Regions from separate parts of the Homo sapiens genome. Here all the other regions are linked to region 3. The links are contacts of gene promoters, found by promoter capture Hi-C in blood cells and fetal thymus (Javierre and others, 2016). All regions are on one chromosome and are shown on one strand. The core of a region is centred on a gene start or on the middle of the fragment in contact, and the rest is flanking DNA. Distances in the headings are between cores, read along the strand shown. Region 1 overlaps LOC107984215 (a long non-coding RNA gene). Region 2 overlaps ARMC3 (armadillo repeat containing 3). Region 3 holds the start of DNAJC1 (DnaJ heat shock protein family (Hsp40) member C1). Region 4 holds the start of MSRB2 (methionine sulfoxide reductase B2).

Region 1 (3,002 bases), core at 96-2,595, 1.0 Mb after region 3:
AACCACTTCATAAGGTTGCTCTCAGAAGTAAATAAGTCCATGTACAGTACTGAACATAACGTCAAAAATAAAATCAGATCCAGTTAGAATGTTAAGAGTTTATCCTGCACACAAAAGAATAGTTCACAAACTGGGAGACCTCAATGTCTCAATTTTACAGCAGTAACAGTGCAGTTCATAGAGCACAAAGGAGGAAGGATTTTGGTCTTTTTCATAATTGGCTGTCATATAGTCTTTATTAAGGCAAACCAAACTGTTTAAGCTGATTTATTGATAGGTTATTGGTTTAATTTCACTGAATCAGTCTGATAAAGACAAAAAGCTTACATTTGTGTTATGTTTACCTTTATGGTGAAAGGTTTGGGAAAATCAGGATGACTTAAGTTTTGTTTACACAGCTACGGGCAGCTGGGCTTTGGGTATACCTAAACTGTGGCCTCCATTTTTATTTTGCTTTAACAATTGTAAGCATTTGACAACTATTAGCTATTATGCTTTGATCTCTCCTGAAGAGATGGAAAGGAATTCTATGTTGGGCATACACCTTACTCTCAAGAGCTCCTTGCAAACGGATAACTTGAATAATATTTGTTGACTATCTGAATGCCTTAAACTAACTGATCTTAAAGACTAAAATGGAATTGGAATTCATTTTTATTTTCTTTTGGATATTTTTGAAAGTAGTTGGGTGGTAAAGAAAATCACTCCCATTTCTGATTAGGTACTGATTTCCTTTGGCCTTTCAGTGTAACAAATATGATGACCACACGGTTACTTTTTTTTTTTTTTTTTGAGACAGGATCTCACCCTGTTGCCCAGACTGGAATGCACTGGCGCCGTCTTGGCCCACTGCTACCTCCAACTCCCAGGCTCAAGCAATTCTCCTGCCTCAGCCTCCCGAGTAGCTGGAATTACAGGCGTACACCACCACCACCCAGCTAATTTTTGTATTCTTAGTAGAGACGGGGTTTCACCATATTGCCAGGCTGGTCTTGAACTCCTGACCGCAAGTGATCCACCCGCCTCAGCCTCCCAAAGTGCTGGGATTACAGGCGTGTGTCACAGTGCCCAGCATCACACCTTTACTTTTGAATTTGTAGAATAGAATGTCAAAATGCAGAAATTCTGTCTTTGGAGCTAATGTCTGAAATCACTCCCCATCACCAACACCTTTGCTACCTGTGTGTGAGTGTTTCATTAAGAGAGGATACAGCATTACTTCCTATGGTTATATGACTCAGTATTGCTGCTTGGCGGACAGAGCTTGCCTGTGACTTTGAATGCCTCCCCTTGCATACTGGCATACTTATTACCTTTTCTTGTTTCGTTTTTGAGACAGAATCTCGCTCTGTCACCCAGCATGGAGTGCAGTGGCACAATCCTGGCTCACTGCAACCTCTGCCTCCCGGGCTCAAGTGATCCTCCTGCCTCAGCCTTCCAAGTAGCTGGGACTACAGGCATCCACCACCATGCTGGGCTAATTTTTGTATATTTAGTAGAGACGGGGTTTCGCCATGTTGGCCAGGCTGGTCTCGAACTCCTGACCTCAGGTGATCCACTCGCCTTAGCCTCCCAAAGTGCTGGGATTACAGGTGTGAGCCATCCCACCTCGCCTTATCACCTTTTAAAGTATGGTTGTTTGTGTAGTTAAGATGACTTGGGCTCTTGTTAACCTGCTAACAATGTATAAGGCTCCATATAGGGTAAGATCTTTCTTTCCACCAGAACTTGGAAAGGAGCAGGCTCCCATTTTGACAAGTCCCCAGTGAGCAGCATCTGCTTTAGGTATATTTCAGTCACAAACGTCTGGGTCTGACCTCAGAGTGATGAGCTAAGAGTCATTAATTTCCTTTTCCAGCTCAAAGGTATCAGCCCCCAAATGCTGCAGACAGTCAGGCTCTGAATCTTGAGAAAGTCCCAGTTTGTTTTACACAAGAACAGCTGGCATACAAATGGAATCAAGCACTTTTAAGTAGTCGTTAATAATACTGATGAGAACAGCTGAAGCAAACAGCGGCCTCTGTAAGTACTCAGATATCTGACATACAAATCGAGTGATAGTCCAATTAGTTTATTTATAGGTTCCTTTCTTTGAAAAATATGAGTTTGTGTCTAGCTGTCCTTTTGATTCTACAGTCTTTACTTTTAGAAAAACTTTGAAAAGCCTAGATGAATGCATTTATATCTGTATTATCAAGTCATTTATCTGCTAACTCATTGATAGTCATTATCTGCATACACAATTTTCTAGCTCTGTGATTTCATTTATTTAGCTTTCCAGAAAATTGTTTTATTAAAAGTCTCATTTTATTAATACAAATAAGAGAGAGCGATAAATACGCTAGTTGCATAGACTCTTACAGGATAGAAAGCTTAGCTTATTTTTCTTGTATGCAATTATTTGCTCCTTTGAGGATTAGAATGAAAAGAAAAATTAACTGTTGAATGAGGAGATTTTCTTTATGCAGTTATTATTTTCCTTAACTAAATAAGATAATAATAGAATAAATAATAAAAAGAGAGCAATGAATCGCCAGCAACAGACTTCAGAGTCCCACTCAGAAGTAACAATATGAAACCTATACTAGCCGGCTTTAAAGAGCATCACAAAACTTAACAACAGTAAAACTCTCACCATGCCTGAGAGCCATGATTACTAGCTATGTAAACATTACTGCTGAGTTAAAAACACTTACAGGATAATTAAAATGCCCCTTTTCAAACATGTTTCTTACAAAATAAATGTCCTGAGACTCAAGTTTACTGTGTCTGATGCTGCTAAACCATTACATTCAGAGAATGTACTCACTAATATGAAATCCCCAGAAAGGAAATCAAGAAATGAGAAAAGTCTTGGTAAATCTCTTAATATCAACCATCTGATTTCTTTTAGCCTTAGCTTTAGTCTCACCATCAAGTTTTTGGCATAGTTGTAAACTGCTAAGTTTCCACTCTTCAAAGGCCCCAAAATGCAGGCGGGGTGAGAGCAGGGGAATGGCTTC
Region 2 (3,068 bases), core at 196-2,695, 1.0 Mb after region 3:
TCCCAGCACTTTGGGAGGCCGAGGCGGGTGGATCACCTGAGGTTAGGAGTTGGAGACCAGCTGACCAACATGGCGAAACCCTGTCTCTACTAAAAATACAAGAATTAGCTGGGCATGGTGGCACGCACCTGTAATCCCAACTACTCGAGAGGCTGAGGCAGGAGAATCACTTGAACCTGGGAGGCAGAGGTTGTAGTGAGCCGAGATGGCACCATTGTACTCCAGCCTGGGCAACAGAGCTAGACTCCATCTCAAAAAAGGGGGAAAAAAAAAAGAAATGAGAGGTGCCATGGAGGGAGAAGAGAGCTGGGCAGAGGGAGGGTGAGGGGCTCTGAAATGCTGGGGAGCCCTGAGGTGGGCGGTTGCAATTTTAGAAGTTGCAGTCAGGTGGGTATCACTGAGAGGGTGATCATTTCCAAGCCAAAACTTGCAGCAGGTGAGGACCTTAGTCCCGGGCAAATCTGGGGCTGGGGGAAGTCCTGGGCAAATCTGGGGTTGTTTTCTAGGCAGAAGAATCAAGCAGTGCAAGAGCCGTGTGGTGAATATATGTTTGGCATGTGCTAGGCACAGCAGGAAGGCCGGTGCAGCTAGAGCTGGGCTAGCAAAGTGCGAGGAGAGCAGACCCTAGACCAGAGAGCTAACGAAGGCCAGGTTAAAGGCCTTTACTCTGAATGGAACAGGAACCGTGGCAGTGTCCTGGGCAGAAGAATGACAGGATTGGTCTTATTTTAAAAGGCTCTCTTTTGCCTTCTTCCCAAAGGACCATGAAATGTATCTTGGATGAGAAAGGGATTCAACTATAACTTAATTGGAAAAAGATCTCAAAAGTGATCTAGTCTAGCCCTCTTCCTCCAGGCTTGTGAAACTGCCTGCACAGGGCTTTGTCTAGCCTACTTTTAGATACACTCACAACACTTTTAGTCATCTGTTCCAGTATTCAGTTACTTTTGCAGGCAGTCAGCTCTCCCTTAGGTATATAGATGGATTTGCCAATCCAAATACTTCCAGGGGCCAAGATGATAATGATGGGATGAAACAGCCGAGTGTAAAGCAATCGAGATGATAAGGAACTGGATCTGTCCTGCCCAAAGGCAAGAACATCCACAAGCTTCAGGTTCCTATTTCTAATTTTATATATGTATATTGTACATGTGTGTGTTTGTGTGTGTGAAATGAGACACCGCAAACAGCTGAGAATATATTCTATCTGTATTCATTTTCGAAAATATGACCCCTGCAGATACTACTTTTTGGTCCTTAAATTATCTCACAGATAAATCCCGGCACCAAACTGTTGCCTTTGAAGGAGCTCTGCTTACAAGAACCAAGTGACCTACGGGCTGTACTCTTAATCAACAGTAAATCTTACGTGTGAGTCTCTGCAGGGAGAGGGGATGAAGGGAAGCACATACTGCTTGTTGTTGTTGTTTCTCCACCAACGTGTGAATATGCAAAGATTCCCAGACCCTTTTCTCCTGTATCTAGCACCTCCATGAAAATAAACACTGGCTCATAAACTCATAGCCCGACATGGAATAACCATGAAATAGCCACCACTGCAAATCAATGCACTCTCTGCTCTCTTTCTTTGACTCTATACTGCCAGTCAATTTCAAGTGTATTCTGAAGTCAAGGCCTCTTACCATGGAGTCATTGAAGAAAGTGTAAATAGCAGCAAACCGAGATGAATCATGTTTACAATTCTCCAGGACTATGTGCTGGAGTACAGTTACCACCCAACATTTTTCTTTGAAATAAGAAGTAAATGATAGAGCTAAAAATTAAAGCTTCCATGGTCTTCTTTAAAATGACCATGGCCGGGCACGGTGGCTGACACCTGTAATCCCAACACTTTGGGAGCCGAGGCGGGCAGATCACGAGGTCAAGAGATCGAGGCCAACATGGTGAAACCCTGTCTCTACTAAAAAATACAAAAATTAGTTGGGTGTGGTGGCGCACGCCTGTAATCCCAGCTACTCAGGAGGCTGAGGCAGGAGAATCACTTGAACCCGGGAGGCGGATGTTGCAGTGAGCTGAGATTGCACTGCCACTGCACTCTAGCCTGGCAACAGAGCAAGACTCCGTCTCAAAAAAAAAAAAAAAAAAAGAGAGAGAGCGAGAGATCGTGTATATCTATATATCCATATAGTAGTTATGTGATACATTTTATACAAATAATTTCTGTTCTAGCTTATGAAAGGCTTTATAATAGTCTTCTTGCAGTGGCTCATGCCTATAATCCCAACCCTTTGTGAGGTTGATGCAGGAGGATCCTTTGAGCTCAGGAGTTTGAGAGCAGCTTGGGCAACACGGTGAAACCCCATCTATACAAAAAATACAAAAATTAGCTGGGTATGGTAGCACATGCCTGTAGTCCCAGCTACTTGGGGGACTGAGGTGGGAGGATCGCTTGAGCCCCGGAGGTCAAGGCTGCAGTGAGCCATCATCGCACCACTGCACTCCAGCCTGGGCGATAGAGTGAGATCCTGTCTCAAAAAACAAACAAAGAAAAAATGACTTCTCCTTTATACTTTAAAAACAGTATGTCACTGTTAAAAGTCAGCTTCAGTTATGACTTTCAGAAAAAAATCTGTTTCGTGGAATAAAACCATCTGTTGACAAATAATTTTAATCTATATATAATTTTAAATGTGTAAAATTTTAGTTCTCCACCTTCATCTATGGAAGATAAATCAGATGTTGGTTATGGACGAAGTATTTCTTCTTCATCTTCCTTAAGAAGATCAAGTAAAGAAAAGAACAAGTAAGAAAATGATGTTTTATCTGTATGCAAACAGCTTCCCCTTTAATTTGAGTGTGAAAAAATGTTTTAGATTTTAGATTGGGGCAACTTGATTTTTATTCTTCTTATGGTAATACAATTGCATAATTGCCTTTTACATTGCTATGGGAAAGATCTCTGGAATAGGAGCCAGGAAATCTGGTTTCACCTTCTATTTCGCCCTGTGGACCTGCAGTGATTTGGGCCACATGACTTAGTGTCTGTGTGGGTTTCGTTTCCTTAGCTGTGGACGAAATAACACCGGGTCCCTGGCTTCATCATGGGG
Region 3 (3,349 bases), core at 382-2,881:
AAAATTAAAATTCAGTAAAAGTTCAATAGTTCACCCACATTTATGATAACCTATGGGGGAAGGGGATGTGCATTTCATATCTAGTCATGTGAAGTGTGCCTTGAATGGCAACTATCGTAAACATTAATTTTTTACTCCCATAACTATTCAAAGCATTGTACGAAGGGCTCAATCAGATCGTGTGAAGTGTACATTTTTCACCCCATAAGCCTGAAATCAGCGAAATGTTATCTTCTCCTTCGCACAAGGCTTCAGGTAGAGACTGGATATCTACCCTCACTCAACCACCCTCAATGGTAGAACTAAAAAGCAACAAATGGATTTTACAAGTTAATGTCTTAAGCTATAGAAGAAAACGAAATGAAACAAAAGGAAAAGGGGAAAAAAAAACCCATTCCTACATTACTGACCGGGGGCTTCTCTTCCAATCGCATCCCAAGTCCTTTGCTGCTCAAAAAACTTAACACCTCCAACCTGGTTAGACGCTTCAAATTCCTCCAGATTTCTAAACTGCGAAAGCGAAACAAACATCTACCTAACAGGCTAAAAAGATGACGAAGTACAAAGTAAGAAAAACTTTTGCAACACAGACACTGGCCACAGTGCATTCCTACTTTCCCAGAAGGGAAGAGGAGGGGAGGCAGCTGAAATAAGAATAAGGATGAGGTAAGTATCGGTGGAAGATGACAGTTTAGGGTGAGAAGCGGCTGCTCTTTCTCACATTCAGGGGGACAGGAAGGCAAAAGGTAGGTGTTAAATTAAAAAAAAAAAAAAGTCTACCCACACCACTCTTCGTTCTTCCTCCAGCACAGCTGGAGGGGGAAGGCTCTTCCCCAGAACGCCGGAGCAGAGAGAAGGCATCGCCACCCTAGGCTAGTGGCGCCGTCCAGCCTGTCACTGGGGCTGGGACTAGAAAAGTTGAAGCAGGAGTAAAGATCTGGGGAAGACGGACACGTCCTTCCAAGGCTGAGGACCCCGGTGACCCGAGCTGAGGGCAGCCAGAGCCCGGGGTGACCAAGCCCTGCCCTACGTGTCCGGCTGTCTCTGAGGAACCGGGTCGCCTGACGCCTGCCCTGGCCCCTCTCCGCCCGGCCCCGCGCGCCTCCTTGCTTACCTGCTGCACCCCGAGGAACTGGTAGAAGTTGAGCTGCACCTCCTCCACTAAGTCAAACAACTCCAGGTCTCCGCTCTCCCAGCCGCGCGCCGGCGCCACGGCGGCCAGCAGCAGCAGCAGCAGCCACAGCAGCGGCGTCCGCGGCGGCGGCGGCGGGAACGGCACCAGCCCGAGCTGGCGGCGTCCAGGAAGCTGCGCCGGCTGGGAGCAAGGAGCCGTCATCGCGCTGGGCTCGGAAAGGTCACCCGCCGCGCAGCTCCGTTGGCCGAGAGCTGGGACGTGGCGGGCGGCGCTGGCTGTGGGGAACAGCGCCTGTCAGTGAAAAGCGCGGGCAGGCGCACCGGAGCGGCCCGCCAGGTGGCTGGCCCCAGACAGAGCGCGGAGGCGGCGGGAGCCGGCTGCCGGACGGGCGGGTGGGTAGGCGGGCGGGGCCGCAGCCAGCGCTACGTTCCGAAGACCCTCGCCCCCAGGCCTACACACAGCTGTAGAGGCAGCGCCCGGCGCCTGGGCTGCACAGTGGGTGAGGCTTCCCTTCGCCTCAGCCTATCCCAGGCCTCGCTTCCGGTGACATCATGTCTCCTAGCAACCGCGGGAAGGGGGCGTGGCCGGAAGCCTGGACGCCTGGCGCCCCAGATCTGGGCCTGGGTGAAATGCCTCTCAATCACTGGCGCGCACGGAGCAGCTGTACCTGCGCCCACATGGGCTGAGAGACAGGGACGGTTATAGCCATCTCGCGTCCATCTGGAACGCCCCACGTGGACTTCCCCTGAAATAGCTACTGTCTTCCTCTCCCCTAGCTATCGAACACTAAAAGCATATTTGAAGCCTGATTAATTGATTATGGCTTCCATGCATTTAATTAGTCCATCAGCAAAGAAGACAGGACAAGTTGAACCAGGTTCTAAAAGGGGCAAATCTAGTAAGTAGAGAGAGGTAGAGCAGAAAAGGAATTGAAACCAAAACAAAAAGTATACTTCTAATTATGAATTAAGATTTACAGGCATAATACCATAAAATGACCTGGTAGAATTAACAGTTAATAATGGTGACTCAATCATAGTTGGAGGAGAAATGTAGTTTATCCACCTTAGCCCACCTCCAGTTGGGGTTCCTTTGAAAACAGACCTCAATTGAGATGTTTCTGTTTTAAAAGACAGGCTAAAAACCTCCTCTCCCATAACAATGTCTCACCTTCTAGTCTTGCATTGCTTCTGTTCAAGCTCTTTTCAAGTTATTTTCTCCACCACAATTCTCTTGTGTGGACTTTATTATTGTGTGCTTAGCACAATGCATAGCACATGAGAGCACTCAATTAGTTGAACTGAATCCTGTGACTACCTCCCTACCACCATTCCCCCTACCACAGATTTTTAGTTTATTTATTTATTTATTTAGAGACGGAGTTTTGCTCTTGTTGCACAGGCTGGAGTGCAATGACACCATCTCGGCTCACTGCAACCTCTGCCTCCCACGTTCAAGCAATTCTCCTGGCTCAGCCTCCCGAGTAGCTAGGATTACAGACTCCTGCCACCATGCCTGGCTAATTTTTTGTATTTTTAGTAGAGACGGGGTTTCACCGTGTAGGCCAGATTGGTCTCAAACTCCTGACCTCACATGATGTGATCTACCCACCTCAGCCTCCCAAACTGCTGGGATTACAGGCATGAGCCACCACCCCCAGCCTAGTTTATTTTTGGTTATATCAGTTTTCTTAAAGTGAACGTCATCTTTACCAAGTCCCTAAATTAGGTTACTGTTTATTCAATGAACAAAACATCGAAATAAGATGAAATTAATGATCTTAAGCACTACTTTTACATATTATAGTAACATTCATCTTTTCTCCTAATTTGATCATTAGATTAAGTGCAATAAAACCTTTGAAACTGGTGCCATATTGCCACAAATCTGGGATTCTTACCCCGATCTTGTAGCAGACAGCCTAGTATTTCCCTTTTGAGTTTTACCTTTATGTTGTCTGAGAACCTCGGGGACTTACTCCATCTAAAGATAGCCCATCCTCTTTCTAAGGCCATGCTGAAACAGAATTGGATTCTATTAATAATACTTCTCATGGACATAAGGTATTACTCAAAAATTCATGCTGCCCAGCTCCAATGACACTTGTCCACCCTGAGATGATCTTCTTGCTTGTCCAGGTTCCTGCAAAGACCACAGTGATATTCATATTTAGACTTCTAGCTTGGCCTCTTTACCTATTCAGTCATTGTCCCA
Region 4 (2,959 bases), core at 12-2,511, 1.1 Mb after region 3:
CTTAAATATGATACCAAAAAAAGAACAATCCATTAACAAATTGATAAATTGGGCTTCATCAAAATTAAAAACTGCTCTTCCCAAGACAATATTAGGAGACAGAAAAGACAAACAAGAGACTGGGAAAAAAAATCTTTGTAAAGCATATGTTTGATAAAAGATTTGCATCCAAAATATATAAAGTGTTCTAAGCTCAATAATGAAACAACTCAACATTAAATGGGCAAAAGATCTGAACGGACACTTCACCAAGGAAAATACACTCGCTGCAAATACGCACATGAAAAGATGCTTAACATCATTAACGATTAGAGAATGCATAATAAAGCCACAATGAGCTACCACTACACAGAACCGGAACATCTACAGTTAAAATCTCTGGACTTTCAAGTGTTGGCAAGGATGAAGAACAACTGGAACTCGCATAGACTGCTAGTGGGAAGGTAAAGAAAAAAACCACTTGGGAAAACAGTATAGTAGTTTCTTAAATGGTTACACCTACCTTACGACCTGGGCATTCCACTTCCAGGTATTTACCCCAGAGAGGAAAAACCGTATATGTCTGTACAAAGATTTGCACAGGGATGTTCCTAGCAGCTGTAGTTCTAATCAGGAAAAATTGAAAGCAGGCTAAATCAAGTGCTGACTAAACACACGGTGGTATATCCATAAATGGAATACTGCTCAGGAAGCAATGAATGATTGTTCCATGCAAAAACACGCAGGCATGTCAAAGTAACTATGTTGAGTGAAAGAAGCCAGACAAAATCAAGTACATATGGGATGATTCCATTTATGGACGACTCTAGAAAATGCAAACTAAAACAGATCAGTGTTTGGGCTGCGGATGAGTGGAGTTGGGATAGGTGGAGGGGGGCAGGGCGAGGGAGGAGCAGGAGTGGGAGGAGCTGGGAGATGCAGAGATGGGTTGGGGAGGGTCTCATGGAAGGGAAGGGAGAGAGGAAGGGGGAGAGGAAGGGGGAGGAAAGGCAAGGGGAAAAGGAGAGGAAGAGGGAGGGGGAGAGAGAGGCAGAGTGGGAGGAAAGAGGGGCGGGGACCTGGGAGGGCCCAGGGCACATAGTGGGAGGAGCAGGTGGGAAGGAGGGAAGGAGGGAGGGGCAGGGGAGGGAGAAGAGGGGGAGGGAGACGAGGGGACTGGCGGTGTGGGCGGAGCGTGGGGAGGGAGGCCGACTAGCGCAGGCGGACGGGAGAGAATGGGGGAGGGGTGGGATGGGAGCAGGGGCAGAGACGGGCAGAGGGCAGAGGGCGGAGCGGCGCCGGAGCGGGCGTCATGGCGCGGCTCCTCTGGTTGCTCCGGGGCCTGACCCTCGGAACTGCGCCTCGGCGGGCGGTGCGGGGCCAAGCGGGCGGCGGCGGGCCCGGCACCGGGCCGGGACTGGGGGAGGCAGGTAGGACGCGGGTCCCGCAGGCCCCGCCGCCGCCTACGGCTTTCGGCTTCATTTCACCGGCTGCACCCGGGAGCCTAGGGCCGGTCCAGGCCGGGCGCTGCCCTCCTACTAAGCCCTCCTCGGCGCGCCCCTCCCCCCCCCCAGCCCGAGGATCTGGGACAGTGGATTGTAAACTTGGTGGCGGCAGGGTGGGGACTGACCCCTGTGAGAATCCGAGGAAATGAACAAATGATCCCCCTAAATGTGCGCATAATTTTTTTTTTCTTGGCTCGGGGAGTGGGGGCATAAGTGGGGCTCGGGGGCCTCTGACCCCTATCGGGGACTCCAGGCGAAGGCCCGGGGCCTGGGCTGTAGCAGCCCGGCCCGCGCGCCCCTGCGAAGGCCCCTAGTATTTTGCATTGCAGCCCTCTTCGTAGTTCCGCGGGCTTCCTTCCAGCATCTGAGAAGCAGGCAGTTCAGACTTGGGGTTCCTGTGAGTGTTTCCTGCCCTGCTGACTTCCCATAAATGTGTCTAAGAGCCAGGGAGACTGGGTTGATCATTTGTTCCTTCTTTAAGGTGACAGCCATTGTTAATGACTGAGACAGAGACCAGGGCGAGCCTGTGTGTGTGTGTCTCTCTCTCTCTCTGTGTGTGTGTGTGTGTGTGTTTCTGCTAAATACTTTTGGATCCTCTCTTGGATCTGGGTACCTGCACATTTCACCAAGCAGGAAGGAGTCACCTCGGGAGACCTGTGCCAGCTACCCCTGTATTTCAGTTCTATTTCAGGGTAACTTAGTGCCCCAGGGGATTGGCTTCCTGGGCGGTTGCCAGACTGACCCACTCTGAATCCAATTTTATATGTGTTCATTGAAGACATTCAGAGATACCCAACTGATGAAAATGTACCAACTCATTCTGAGCTCTTTTTAGCCCCTGAAGTTTTCGAAATGCAATATTGAAAGAATACGTAACTAAATAAAAGCGTTGGCGTTGTGGAATGTTAGCTCATCCAACTTGACTTCCAGCTATGGCCTTTCTAATCACTGGTGTCTCTAGTCAGTCTGATGACATTTGCTGTGAGCCTACTGTGTGCCAAGCATTGTATTGCTGAGAACCACAGGTGATAGAAACAGGTCACAGTTACCGACGAGCTCTCTATAACCCCTTGAAAAAGGATGGTGGTTTTAGCGGTAACTACTTCATGGCTGTAATTGCTGCTGTCAGAAGCAGCCTAATGAATTGCCCTGGGATCTGAAGTTCTCCAGCAACAATAAAATTTGGCCAGCCACCAGTAGGTAACAGGAGCTGTGTACCTTATCAGACACCCCTCCTGGGAATCTATTCGAAGGAAATAGTTCAAAAGAAGAACAAAGAGATATATGCAAAGATGCTTTAAGCACTAGTCTCTTACAAAATGGAAACTGGCTGTAACCCAAATCAGTTAAGAAATACTTACGTAAATCATGAAAATTCAATCCAACAAACTGTTAGGCAGCCATTAAAAATGATAAACGGAGTATTTCTGTGGTGAAGGGCTTGGGTATGAATAGATGCAGATTTTGAGTCTTGG

Evidence for each region. The method cuts DNA at HindIII sites, captures the fragments that hold promoters and counts their contacts. A CHiCAGO score of 5 or more calls a contact.
Region 1: a contact is called between a fragment that was not itself captured here and the fragment with the promoter of DNAJC1 in region 3, in 3 of 17 cell types (naive CD4 T cells, M2 macrophages and total CD4 T cells). The highest score is 6.0, in naive CD4 T cells.
Region 2: a fragment that was not itself captured here is called in contact with the fragment with the promoter of DNAJC1 in region 3 in 10 of 17 cell types (total CD8 T cells, naive CD4 T cells, total B cells and 7 more); the score reaches 8.6 in total CD8 T cells.
Region 4: a contact is called between the fragment with the promoter of MSRB2 here and the fragment with the promoter of DNAJC1 in region 3, in 8 of 17 cell types (activated CD4 T cells, non-activated CD4 T cells, naive CD4 T cells and 5 more). The highest score is 9.5, in activated CD4 T cells.

The regions. Positions count from the first base shown.
Region 1 is chr10:23,044,286-23,047,287 of GRCh38, forward strand. All of the region lies in intron 2 of LOC107984215 (a long non-coding RNA gene), which reads right to left. Among named protein-coding and RNA genes, the nearest start is that of MSRB2, 50 kb to the right of the region's middle. The HindIII fragment of the contact is 2,050 bases long and covers 321-2,370 here.
Region 2 is chr10:23,005,611-23,008,678 of GRCh38, forward strand. It overlaps ARMC3 (armadillo repeat containing 3), which reads left to right. Exons shown (of 19, transcript NM_173081.5): 14 at 1,274-1,371; 15 at 2,666-2,764. All of the region lies in intron 2 of LOC107984215 (a long non-coding RNA gene), which reads right to left. Among named protein-coding and RNA genes, the nearest start is that of ARMC3, 79 kb to the left of the region's middle. The HindIII fragment of the contact is 679 bases long and covers 1,107-1,785 here.
Region 3 is chr10:22,002,099-22,005,447 of GRCh38, forward strand. It overlaps DNAJC1 (DnaJ heat shock protein family (Hsp40) member C1), which reads right to left and starts at 1,632. Exons shown (of 12, transcript NM_022365.4): 1 at 1,115-1,632. The coding sequence starts at 1,336. RefSeq lists a silencer at 1,266-1,635 and enhancers at 1,296-1,796, 1,676-1,725, 1,756-1,885. The HindIII fragment of the contact is 6,929 bases long and covers 1-3,349 here.
Region 4 is chr10:23,094,318-23,097,276 of GRCh38, forward strand. It overlaps MSRB2 (methionine sulfoxide reductase B2), which reads left to right and starts at 1,262. Exons shown (of 5, transcript NM_012228.4): 1 at 1,262-1,409. The coding sequence starts at 1,292. It overlaps LOC107984215 (a long non-coding RNA gene), which reads right to left and starts at 962. Exons shown (of 3, transcript XR_001747394.2): 1 at 503-962. RefSeq lists a silencer at 1,070-1,539. The HindIII fragment of the contact is 9,169 bases long and covers 1-2,959 here.